2 separate regions of the Homo sapiens genome follow, and region 2 is linked to region 1. The links are contacts of gene promoters, found by promoter capture Hi-C in blood cells and fetal thymus (Javierre and others, 2016). All regions are on one chromosome and are shown on one strand. The core of a region is centred on a gene start or on the middle of the fragment in contact, and the rest is flanking DNA. Distances in the headings are between cores, read along the strand shown.

What was found. The method cuts DNA at HindIII sites, captures the fragments that hold promoters and counts their contacts. A CHiCAGO score of 5 or more calls a contact.
Region 2: a fragment that was not itself captured here is called in contact with the fragment with the promoter of SYT15 in region 1 in 6 of 17 cell types (M1 macrophages, erythroblasts, M0 macrophages and 3 more); the score reaches 6.6 in M1 macrophages.

Annotation. Positions count from the first base shown.
Region 1 is chr10:46,575,213-46,581,209 of GRCh38, forward strand. It overlaps SYT15 (synaptotagmin 15), which reads left to right and starts at 3,916. Exons shown (of 8, transcript NM_031912.5): 1 at 3,916-3,963; 2 at 4,952-5,156; 3 at 5,682-5,824. The coding sequence starts at 3,957. RefSeq lists enhancers at 1-393, 3,781-4,658, 4,659-5,538. The HindIII fragment of the contact is 10,756 bases long and covers 1-5,997 here.
Region 2 is chr10:46,469,108-46,475,672 of GRCh38, forward strand. It overlaps a transcript of NPY4R not described here. Among named protein-coding and RNA genes, the nearest start is that of NPY4R, 6.4 kb to the left of the region's middle. The HindIII fragment of the contact is 2,742 bases long and covers 1,854-4,595 here.

The sequences.
Region 1 (5,997 bases), core at 2,666-5,165:
CTTAGTGGGTGGGCCAGGAAACCTCTTTGATTCAGTTTCCTCATCTGAGGAGGAGGTCATGACCCTGCAGGGCAGACATGAGGCAGGGCTCCATGGGATCGTGTACATCAGGCCTGCATCTCAATGCTCAGAACATCAGGAGCAGCAAGAAGGATGAGCTCCCTCCTGCCACCTGCTTTTATCTTCCCGTGGAGGAAGATTGACTCAAAACTCAGTGGGCTGGCTGGCAGTGTAAGGATTTTGCAGATAGAGCTGACAACGTGATTTTGCAGACCCCAGAAGCTGGTCTGCAGGACCAGGGCAGGGAGCTCCTGTTGGGCCCTAAATTGTGAGCCCAGGATGTGTATGATGCATGGACAATGTGGGCAGAAGCTGGGGCAGCTCATCCCAATGGCAAGAGCCCTTCATCTGCCATTCAGCACAGCCTCAGCCCTGGAGGTGGATAGTGGCGATGCCAAGCTGAATAAGACACGGCCCCCTGCCTTCATGGAGGCCCTCGGCTGCCAGGAAGAGTGAGGCAGCAGTCTCAGGCACAGAGTCCCATATTCGGCATGGTAGCTGCAAGGACCATGAGGACAAGGAGGGGATGATGAAGGGTTTCACAGAAGGCAAGATGCTGGGGGTTCATCTTGAAACATGAGCAGTGGAGAAGGAGGGTGGGAGGGGCATTGAGTATTTCAGACAGGGAGAGAGCAGCATGGTGGGAGAGCCCAGTGCATACGCAGAGCCGTGGAAGTAGCTGCATCAGTCTGGGCACAAGCACTGCATAGAGATGGGTGGTGGGGGGGATGAGAATGGGAGGGGAGCCTGGAAGACAACAGCTGGGAAGGGGAGTGGGTGCAGCATGGAATCTGAAGAGCTGAGAGGAGGCCCATGCAGAGCTCCAGATGAGAGGTGATGGAGGGCTGGGCAAGGTTTTTTGCCATGATAGAGATGGACAGAGGAGGAACAGCTGTCAGGACTTGGTGACACAGAGAAAGATGGGGACTTTGGAAAAGCACAGCATGGGGGTCGAGAGATGGCAGCTCTGGGCCTGGCACTCAGGAAGTGCCAGAAGGGATTCCCTTTTCAAAAAACATCCCACTACCCAACTCCACCCCCAGAACAGCCTGAGTACAGCTCGGGCGCAATCATGGAGGCAGCTGGTGTGGATGCCATGCCCCATTGGGGTGGTCAGGTGGGGGTGCATGGCAGCTGGGGGAAGGGGTCAAGATAGCTGACGGGTTCCATGTAGGGGTCCCCTGAGCCTTGCTAGCTGCCTGAGTCCAGTGTTGAGGCACACTGAACTCTAGACAGAGGAAGGGGAAATGTAAGCCACCCCTCCCAGGGTACTGCATGGACAACATGGTCCACACAATGGTCCTAGAGATATCAAGTCCTCATCCCCAACCCCGTGACTACATAGCAAAAGGGGCTTTGCAGGTGTGATTAAGTTAATGATCTTGAGATGGGGGTGGTGGTTATCCTGGATTATCTGATGAGCCTCTTATAGAGAAACGCCACACTCTGAGATGAATTCAGAAGTCCTTTATTAGCCGGCAACCGAGAGACGGCTAGTGCTCAAAATTCTCTCGGCCCTGAAGAAAGGGCTAGATTTTCTTTTATACTTTGGTTTAGAAAGGGGAGGAGGAGCCTAGCTGAAGCACTCTTACAGAAGCAAAACAGGCAAAAAGTTAAAAGACAAATGGTTACAGGAAAACAAACAGTTCCAGGTGCAGGGGTTTTAAATCCATCACAAGGCGATAGATGCGGGGGCTTTGGGTACCATCAACCGGACACAAATGTGGGGGCTTAGGGTACTATCAACTGGGCAAATTCCTGGGAACTGCGGATATAGCTTGCCACAGTATCTTATCCATTAATTGCATTCTTTGATGTGCTGGGAGTCAGCTTGCACAAGTTAAGTCCTTGAGGAAGGGGGGTGGGTAAGGGGCTGCAAGTGAAGGAGCCAAAATGGAGTGTGTCTGGCTCTCTCAGCTAAGGGACAGTCAATTCAGGTTAAAACAAGGTAGGGTATCACACTTACAAGAGGGAGGCAGAAAGAGTTGATGTGAAATGACCTGGAGTGGGAGAGGTTAGAAAAGGCTGTGCTGCCGGCTTTGAAGACAAAGGAAAGGGCCACTAGCTAGCAGCCTCTAGGAGCTGGAAACGCTGGGAAACAGCTCCCTTGCCTCCAGAAGGCACAGGCCCTGCCAACCCAGTTTAGATTCCCGACCCCCCGAACTGTGAGATAACATGCATGTGGCTTAAACTACTCAATCTGTGGTACTTTGTTGCAGGGGCAACAACAAACATACAGACATCTAACTCAGACCCGAGGCCTTGGGTGGGACCCAGGCCCCATTTCCTGAGACACCTGCTCCCACAGCGACCTGGGGTAAGCAGAAGTGGGGGAGGATTCTCCAGACACCCCAGACTGTCTCCAAGTAGAGCGGAGATCTCGCCAGTTAAGCGCACAGCTGAGGACAGTTACTGGGTGAAGTGGCCTGGGTCTCCGCCTTCTCATGCCCCCACCGCCCAGACCCTAGAAGGGGAGTGGCTGCGGCCTCTGCACCCTGGCGCTGAGGGCTCCCAGACCCGGCCCAGTGGGGCACCCCAGTTCACCACCCTCCTCGCCTTAGGTGAGCCAAAGCCCAGGCAGGGTGGAGCCTCACGCACACTGACTGCCCCCTAGGACAGGCACAGGTGACGCGGGGGTGTGGGACCCAGGCTATGACTCTGGACATAACCTTCAAGGCTGTAAAACGAGAAGGTCCATCCCCCCAAAACACGCACTCCCCCACAACCACCCCCTCCCCCCCCCCACACACACACACTCCCCTGCACCACAGATACACACATTCCTTTCGCTCCCCACTCAGACGCCTCGAGGCCTCGGCGGGGGAACCATAGGGGCGCGACCAGGGCGCGCCGAGGTGTGACCAGAGAGGACACGCAGCGACCTTACTCCCGCCTTTCCCGCAAGGCGCGTTCGCCAGCCTGGACTAGTGGGCACGGGCCCTGCGTTCTAATAATCACCATAATAATAGGCGCTGGGTGTACAGAGGGGACCCAGGCGACGCTGGCCTCCATCCGATAACCACCGTAACAGGGGCTGGGCCGCGCCGCTCCTCCGCTCTAAGTGCTCTTTACATGCTTCTTAAGTTACCGGCAGGCCAGCCGCCCTTACGAGAGCCCCTCACGGACATTAACCCAATTGAGAAGACTGAACCCAGCTTACGAACGTTAAGTTGTCCCAAATCGCAGGGCTGGCGAGTGAGGAGCCTGAATTGGAACCCAGGAGCTTCTGGAACCCGCTCCAGAATTGCGCTCTCGACCGGTTTGTCCGCTGAGAGCGAACGGGTGCGCGAGCGCCGCATCCCTGCCCAAGGCCATCAGGCAGGCAGCGCTGGGGCCGGGGACCCGCGCGGAGACTCCACCCCGGGATCCGGGAAGGCTCCCCCGAGCCGGGGTCGGAGCTGCGGCTGGAGGGGCCTCGGCTTGAGGAGGATCTGGGAGGGCGGGGGCTCAGTCCTGGCCACCAGGTGTGAGGGGTCGGGTGCGGAGCCCTGTGTCAGACGCGGCGGTGAAGGCTGTAGCCCTGCTCTCCGGGATGGGGGTGGTACTCTCACCCCACCCTGCCCCAAGCCGCAGGGAGCCCCTGGCGCCCCTGGCGCCCGGGACCCGCCCTGGCTGGAGCCCTGCGGTTTCCGGGAGCTCACGGTCGGCTCTGCGCCCCTCCACCGCCGGGCCTGGGCCTGGGCCAGGGACGGGCTGGGGCGGGACTGCGGCCTCGGGGCGCTGGGTCCCTGCCCCTGCCGTGCACTGCGCGGCTCCCCGCGCCGCAGCTGGGCACCAGCAGCACCACGGACCGCCCCTGTGCTCGCCCGACGGCGCCCCGCGGCGCTTTAAGAGACGGCCTGGCAGCCCAGCCCCAGCCGCCCAGACCGGCGAGACCAGCCTGCGGGAGCAGCCCCATGGCGGGTAAGCGAGCCTCGCCTCCCCAGCCCAGCCCCGGCCCCTCTGCGACCCTTCCAGCACTTGCCTCCGCCCCGCCGCCCCCGCTGGGGTGCAGCGCCTGCCCTGCCCGGCCTCGGCGCGCTCTTGGAGGGGCACTGGGATGGAGTAGACGCTGAGGCCCGCTCTTCGCGGTCAGTTGCGGCTTAGGAGGTGTGGGGGGTCCGGCCTTCTCACCACCCCACCCAGTGCAGATCCCTGAGACCTGAATGCCCCGCGGCCGCACGTCACCCTAAGGGAGGCACCTTTTTGGCCCGCCCCAGGTGGCCAGCGGTTGGAACCCAGCGTCTGAGCACCCCCGGGGCGAAGCCTCCTAGGTCCCGCAAATGCGGACGTGTGAGGGCCAGCAGCAACGGGGTCTTGCCCCCTTTTCCTCCCCACCTCGTCCACCGCGTCGCACCAACTCCCCTAAGCGCGTGCTCACCTTGATAGAGGGCTAGGGGAGGGAGCGGGTGTTAGAGAAGAGTCCAGCCTTGCAGCAGGTTCCAGGGCCCCAGAGGGTAGAGGTTTGATTGCAGACCAGGGGGAAGGTACCTTTCAGGGCTTTCCTTAACTGACTGCGTCCACACCCCAGCTCCCCTCCTGGCCTCAACAGGAGCCCAGGGGATATGGAGGTTCTGGTGAGGGCAGGTTTGATTTCTACTCAGAAGCGCAAGGAAATGGCTTCTTTAAGCCAGAATCCCAAGGGCAGGGCCAGCTGTTTTCCAAGGAAAACTAGAAGGTTCTGCCCAGGGCTCTCAGACCCTGGGGTAAACGGCTTCTCCTCTGAGAGCTGGCGGAACCTAGCCAGCAGCATCCCTCCCGGAACCCATCCCCAGCAGGCCTGCTCCTATCACTCCTGAGATCAAACCCAGAGGCAGGGTTGCTGCCCTAGTTCTGCCCCAGCAGGCCAGGGCTGTGAGGGAGAGTGGCTTTCCCAGGCAGGCATCATAGTACTGGTGGTCTCTGCCCCCAGAGCAGCTGGCCCTGGTGATTGGGGGCACCATCGGGGGGCTGCTGCTGCTGCTGTTGATCGGGGCAAGCTGCTGTCTGTGGAGAAGGTTCTGTGCCACCCTCACCTATGAGGAGCTGCCTGGGACACCAGCCATGGCCACCACAGCTGCCTCCAGTGGGCAGCGGGACAGGCCCTGCCAGCCGCATGCTAGGACCCAACTGAGCAGGTGAGGCAGGATGTGGGGCCAAGTGCGCCCCTGGAATTTCCCTCAGGGTGGGGTCGAAAAGGAAAGTTCTGTTTATGGGGGTGCCTCTTCTATGCTGCTTCGGTGCTGGGAGCTATCACAAAGAAACCCCAGAAACCTCACATCAGCTATTAGGCAGGTGTTATGAAACCCATGTTCCAGGTGAGGAATCTGAGGCTCAGTGCACATAAGCAACAGGTCCAGAGAACACAATTAGTAAGTGGCAGAACAGGAATCCAAACCCAGACTGGCTGACACTGTCAGGTGCTGTGTTCCTTCTTCAAATCCCACTGCTGTGTGTGTGTGTGTGTGTGTGTGTGTGTGTGTGTGTGCGTGTGTGTGTGTGTGTGTTGCCTGGTATGGGCCCAGAAAATGGTGCCCTGGCCTCCTCCTGGCTCCCGATGGCTTTTCTTCCTCCAGCCCCTGGTGCTCAACCGTCCTGGCTGAGCGCTCTGAGACCACACCATTGACTTGCCACCTACATGTTGTCTCCCTGACTCTGGACAGGCCACCAGCTGTGCCATTCGTGGTGCCCCCAACCCTTCAAGGCCGAGATTGGGTGCCCCTGCACAGTGGAGAGTGGGCCGATGCCCCATGGGACCCCTGCCCGGCATCAGAGCTGCTGCCTCACACCTCCAGCGGCGGCCTTGGTGAGTGTCCTTGCCAGGGCTGCCCAGAGGTCAGGGTCTGCTCGGGTGGCCCCATCTGCTTTCACCAGCTTGGCTCCGGAACACAACCTGAACCAGCCAGGGATGCCAGGGACCACCCAGGGACCACTCTTTCTGGGTGCTTTCATTTATGAAGTGCTTGCTGCACCCCATGA
Region 2 (6,565 bases), core at 1,975-4,474, 110 kb before region 1:
CCAAACCCTCATCACGACCCACACATCTCACCTGGACAGTCCTAAGAGGCCCTGCAAGCTCAGCCATGGTGAGCACCTCCTAGACACTGGACAGACATACACAACTCTCCAGTGAAACCTCCTGTGGCTCCCCTTGGAAATGTCCCCATGGAGTCATGGCAGTGGTCCCTCTAGGATGGGTCCCTCTGAAATCAGTCTGACTCTCTTCCTCTTTCAGGCCTTCTAGTGCTGCCTCCCCCAGACTCATTCTGCATGTAAACTCTCCATTTTCAGGGAGTATGGTTGAGTTTCTCAGATCCAGGCTTGTGTAGATGTTGCTTCCACGGCCTGAACTCATCAAGCTCTCCATTCTCAGAGACCCATCCCACACACACAGCTCCCTGAGAAATGTCCTTGGCCATCCCTGCCCGCAACCTGTGCATTCTGAAGGGCAGCTGCCAAGCATGGTCCACTCACATATAGCTAGCTCCCGGAAGCTGTCCTACTTTTTTCATGGAAGGCTGTAGCAGAGGGAAGCCACATCAGCTATCCGGGGAAACCAGTTTATTTTCCAGTACTTATAACAGAGAAGCAAAGATCCTCACACATTTAGGAAATCAACAGCACAAAGGAGATAGGTCAAGATGAATAAACAAAATAACTGACCCCAAAAGAAGCTGAAATAACTTAGGGAATAGAAAATAACTTTAAGAGACCAAAACTTCCTTTAATGCCTAAATTAGAGAAATTACTGAATCCATATAACAAGAGCAGATTGCCATGAAATAAGACAGACTAAGAAAGCAAGAAAGAATCCTTGAAAACTAAGCATGACTACTGAAATTTGAAAACACATCATTAGAAGGGATGGGAGAACCAGCTTAGGAAATATCCCATAATGTAGAGCAAAAACACAGAAAGATGGAAAACTTCAGAGCTAAAATAAGAGACATGGATGATTAACACTAATGACCCATCATCCAATTACTAAAATTTCCAGGAAGGAAAAATCAAGACAATGAAAGGCAGCATATCAGTCATAGTCTGCACAGGACACATAATTCACCCCCAGATTGTCAAACAAAGGGATTTTAATAAAAAGGTAACTTACAGAGGTGTGGGAAGCATTAAAGGAAAGAAACAAGAAATGGTGAGGCACCCAGAGACTGGCAGAAGACAGAAGCAATCACCACCCTACAGTTAAAAGAACAAAAGGAGAAAACCACATTACCACAGCCAGAGGACTGCAGAGGAAGGGCCCCCAGTGGGAGCTTCTGTAGTGTGGAGGCATGCCACCGCCTCCAGACAGCATGGAAGCAAGGGGAAGTAGAAAAGAATTCTACCAACCTCTCTCTCCTTCCACTTCCAGTCTCCTGTCAGTCCCTCCCATTGACCAAACCCAACTGGAGCCCTGCCAGCAAAGGAGCCATCAGCTTCCCCTGGCACAGGGAAGAGCAGAGAACCACAGTAGAGAATGCATCTGGGTGGGGTGTGAGCAAAATAGTCGACACATAGAATCATCAATAGCAAGAGTATTCCAGAGCTACAGATTAAAAGGAAGCCCGAGGAACTGCTCCACACCTAGACAGGTACTGCAAAATTTCAAAACACCAAAAAAAAAAAAAAAAAAAAAAAAAAAAAAAGATTCTAAAATGTTCCATGGGTGGGAGCAGGAAGAGAAAGGTTGCCTACAAAGGAAAGGAGAGACAGAGACCATTCTCAGTCTTGTCAACAACATAGGATGATGGAAGACTCTGAAAAGATGGAGCTATATTTTTAGGACTCCTGGAAATATATTTTGAACCTAAAACGCTCATCTCAGCGATAATATCAAGTGTAAAGGTAGAATAAGGATATTTCTAAACTTGCAAGCTTACATTTCCTGAATCCTTTCTGAGAGAGTTCATTAAGGAAGTGTATTAGTCCATTTTCACACTGCTATAAAGAACTACCTAAGACTGGGTGATTTATAAACAAAACAGCTTTAATTGACTCGCAGTTCCACATGGCTGGGGAGGCCTCAGAAAACTTACAACCATGGCAGAGGGGGAAGCAAGGTACATCTTACATGGCGGCAGGAGAGAGGCTAGGGACTCCCAAACACTTTTAAACCATCAGATCTCGTGGAAACTTACCATCATGAGAACAGCATGAGGTAAACTGCCCCCATAATCCGATTACCTCCCACCAGGTACCTCCCTCGGCATGTGGAGATGACAATTAGAGATGAGATTTGGGTGGGGACACAGAGCCAAACCATATTAGAAGGTACTCCAGCACAACTGGTATAAAATCAAGCAAGGAGAGATGAGGTCAAAGAAATGGTTGAACAGGCCCAGGAGCCTGGGATTTTCTTTCCCTACGCAAATAGTAAACCTGCATTACTGTATTTCTAGGGGAATTACAGGGATCGATGCCATGATTAAAGACATGAAAGATGCAGGGACAGGGAGGCCTGTCACATTTCTGCCCACTTGGCTCACCTCTTTAGCTCTTTAGCCTGTGCAGGAAGTTGCTGAATCTTGGAGAATGACTGTATGTCGTCGTAAATTTAATCAGGCAGTAACTCCAATTTTAGCTGCTTTTCTAAATGCAACATAGAACAACTTAACCACTCTCAGCACTTAGTATGTAGCTATTGACTCAGCTTGTGTTTTCTCCCCATCTGTATCGGTAAGAACCAGCAGAAGTTTGCTTTCACCTGGCAAGGATAGAAGTACAAAGTCAGTGTCTTCTCCCAGATCATGTTCGTTTTCCAGCTTTCTGTTATAGTGTGGTCTACAGAGACCTTGATCTTCTGAACATCCCACAGATCCACAGATGGTATGCTGGTGCACTACACTGGTAGCACATGCTGATTGAACTGATGAGCAGGGAGAATAAACCAGATGCCTTCATAAGATGCATGCAGCACATGGGCATGGGTGGGACAGTAGCCATCATAGCCCGGGTAGTCTAAGCTAAGCACACGGGATATGTACCAGATGGCACCCATCTGGCGTGGGGGAGCCTGGCATGGCATGTCAGAGCCAGAATAGGACAAAGAGTGGCCATGCAGGGAGGCAGGGGCACGGTGGCCTAGCACAGGGTGTTAGAGTCCAAGTACTGTCAAATGAAAGTCCACATGGCAGAAGGGGACAACCAAGTGTGGATGTCAGAGCCACACAGAATGAGTGGAGGGGCAGAGTTCTGCTATGGAAGATTGGGTATATGCAGGGGGACCAACTGAGCAAAGTTGGGAGCCAGTTTTCTCACTCATGGAGAAGGCAGTCATGAATATGGAAGGAGGGAAACCCAGAATAAGCCCTGTGGTTTTGATTAGAATTGAAAGTATTGAAGTGAGCTCATGGTTTTCTATATAGAGAGATAAATATTGATCTAATAGTGTGTGTGCATATATATCCTTGCTCTGTCCACTGAGAGAGTCTAGGAGCAGTGATACCCCAATAGCAATGAACACTCCTAGCACCCATATATTGACTTCTAAATGCCATTCTCCATTAAAAGAATCCAAGTCTCCTTCGGAAAATGGCTGATTCCAGGGCAAGGGCTGGGAAAGCCCAAGATAAACCTGAAAGATCTTGGGAGCTAGAAAGTAATGAAGTACTCTAAGAATGAAGGGTGCAGGCCAGAAAAGCCCAGAACCTGGCTTGAAGGGGCCCTTGATGGCCAAATCTTCGACCATGTGAGCATCAAAGTAAATAATAATGATGATGGATAATAACCTACTGAATAAAATAAAAATCTGAGTCCATTTCAATATAACTAAATGATGGAGTAAAGTGACAGTTTGATGAGGAATGGAATATATTCATGGTTTCAGTGTGCCTCATCACAAAATATTTGTTTATTACAAAGAGAAGAGTCACCTTACAGTGGAGAAGGCTGGCAGTCACCTCTGTAATCAAATGATCATAGCGAACACCATCTCTAATCCTAGAGTGAAATTACTCACCGCATGACAGGATGCAAGGAAAACGCAGCACAGCTTCTGTGATCTTCCTGCTGAAGGTGCATGCAAGTGAATCCAACCCTGAAGAAGCATCAGCCTCAACCCAGGTGAGGGACATACTACAGAATAACTGGCCTGTCATCTGGAAACATAAGGCCATGGAAGTCAAGGAAAGAAGGGAGAACCATTCCAGATTGAAGGAGACCAGAGACAGGAGAATGAAACCTGTGTATCTTGGGACAGCTGATGAAACTTTAGTGGAGCCTGCAGATGAGGCGGTAGCAAGGTGTTCATGCAAATTGCCGGGATCATGCTTTCAAATGGCATAGAAAAATTAATGTTCTTTATCCTCACTTTCAACTTTTCTATAAGTTTAAGATGATTTAAATTATATTTTTAAAGGTGTCAAAAATTTTCTTCATCTTTATAGAATGAAACAGAAATAAAAATTGAAAGTGGTAACCTCTGGAAATAGAACTGGGGGAAAGAAGGAAAGAATATCAACGGGAGTTATCTGACCCATAGGATTTTAGGTCATTTTTTGCTTTGTTTCCTTTTCTAAATTTCTCTCTATTAAAAAAGAATGAATGATTACAACTTTATAAAGGAAAGAATCCATAAAATATATGTAATTAAATCCCATGGTACAAAGGGCAAAGAAGCTTGGCAACAACGCTTCCAGCCTCAGTTTTGTCATATGTAAAATGGAGCAAAGATGGGTTCAGGCTCATTACAAACTGGTGAGGGTTCAAATAATTAAGGGATAGGGATAGAATATCAAAGTATTTTCAAAGCCACATAGAAGGGAGGTGTGAGGGAGGGTTCCTAGGACTTCAAAGTCGGAAGCCGATAAGGGCCTGGCCTTCCCAGAAGCCTTCTAAGTAGAGATTCTGGCCAGCAGGGCTGCTGAAGTGGGCACACCTGCTGTAGGAGGCGTCTCCTTGGGCCCTGAGGGATCACCTGTTCTTTGTTTGCCTTTGCTTCTCTGCTGAGGCCATAAAGAGGCTGGGCTGTAAAATAACCTACTCTGGCCCCAGGAAAGAGATAAGAGATGTCAACTGGGCAGCCAACACCTTCCCTGCCTCCCACCCCAAACAGCTGGCCCTGCCCTCCCCACCCCCACCTCTTCTTCTCTCCAGAGTAAAGCTGGACTTCCCTACTGCCTCCTGCCTGTCCCTTCTCACCAATGCTGCCACCCTTTTTCTCCACTCTATTTCAAGGAAGTAGCCATCTGCCACTAAAACTTTATCCCATGGTCCAATCCATGAGCTTGAATCCAACCAGCCCAGAGCAGCATTTTCCCCCTTGATAGAGAATAAGAGAAAGACAAAGACAAAGGCACATTATTTCCCTAAAGTCCTATATTCCCTGTCTTCTGTGAACCAGTGAAATTATCAACCCACAGTGGGTCAGCTGCCCTTCTGTGGAGCACATCAGAGGAAAAATACCAACGCAGCCCTGGCTGCACACTTTGTGTCGACTCTCCCAATCCTTCTCCCTGCCTTCTGGAACTACAGAGATTCATTCAGTCTACTGTCATTCAACTAATATTTTAAAGCAGTTCAGTAGACTGAATGTTACATGGACAATAGACTCAGTGTTACAGAGACACTGGATGTACAGTTTCGCTTCCAAAGACATGTTATAAAAAAGGGCACAAATGGGATAATAAGTAAAATAGGCACCAGATTACCATATGCTTTGAACAGAGAATTTACCCTATTCTATTCCCCATCTCAAATTGTGCTTAGCTATGTTGTCCTACCAAAATTCCCTGATATGGTGATATATTAGTTAGCTAAAGCTGAGTAAAAAAGAGCCACAAAATCTTAGTGACATACAATTGACATGACTGCAGGTCAGCTGGGGCTAGCTGACCTAGGCGAGCTCAATGGGGCAGCTCTGTTTCAAGCTATGAGTCCAACTGGACTTGGCTCCTCACTGAGATTTAAACTTCTCCACTGATATTCCATCTGGGGCTCAGGCTGAAGGAGTTCAAAGAAGTGTTATGCATGGAGATGGCAGCAGTTCAAGAGGACAAGCCCAGCTATGCAAGGTAATTTCCATTCCTCCGTGAGTCACATCTGCTAACATCCATTGACCAAAGCAAGCTACATGGCTGAGCACAGTCGAGAGGCAAAGAACTGTCCCCCACCTACCCTGAGGCCAAAGCAAGTCAGAGCCATGCCCAACATTAATAGAACCAGTAACTACACTCTTCCAGTGAAATGGAGAGGTGGAAGAGTGAATATGTTTGAACAGTAGTCTCATCTATCATAGTCAATGATACAATTTCAGAAATATTAAGGAAACCAGTATTTGTATCTATCTCATTGAATATAATAATGAAAAATTTCTCATCTTACATTACCAAGTCCAACTCACTTTTTTCCACAGATAATTTTAAATCTTCCCCCAAAAGAAGCCCCATTCCATTTTCTCATGGAAATAATAAACTCAAAATTTCCCATCCCCTAGAGCAGTTTCACTCTGAAACAGATACAGTTTCCCTACACTTCCAGACTGGGCTATAGAAAGTTCTACAAGGACACACAAACATAGACAAAAAAGAATATTGCAATATTAGTCGTGTGTGTGTGTGTGTGTGTGTGTGTGTACATACATCACATGAGA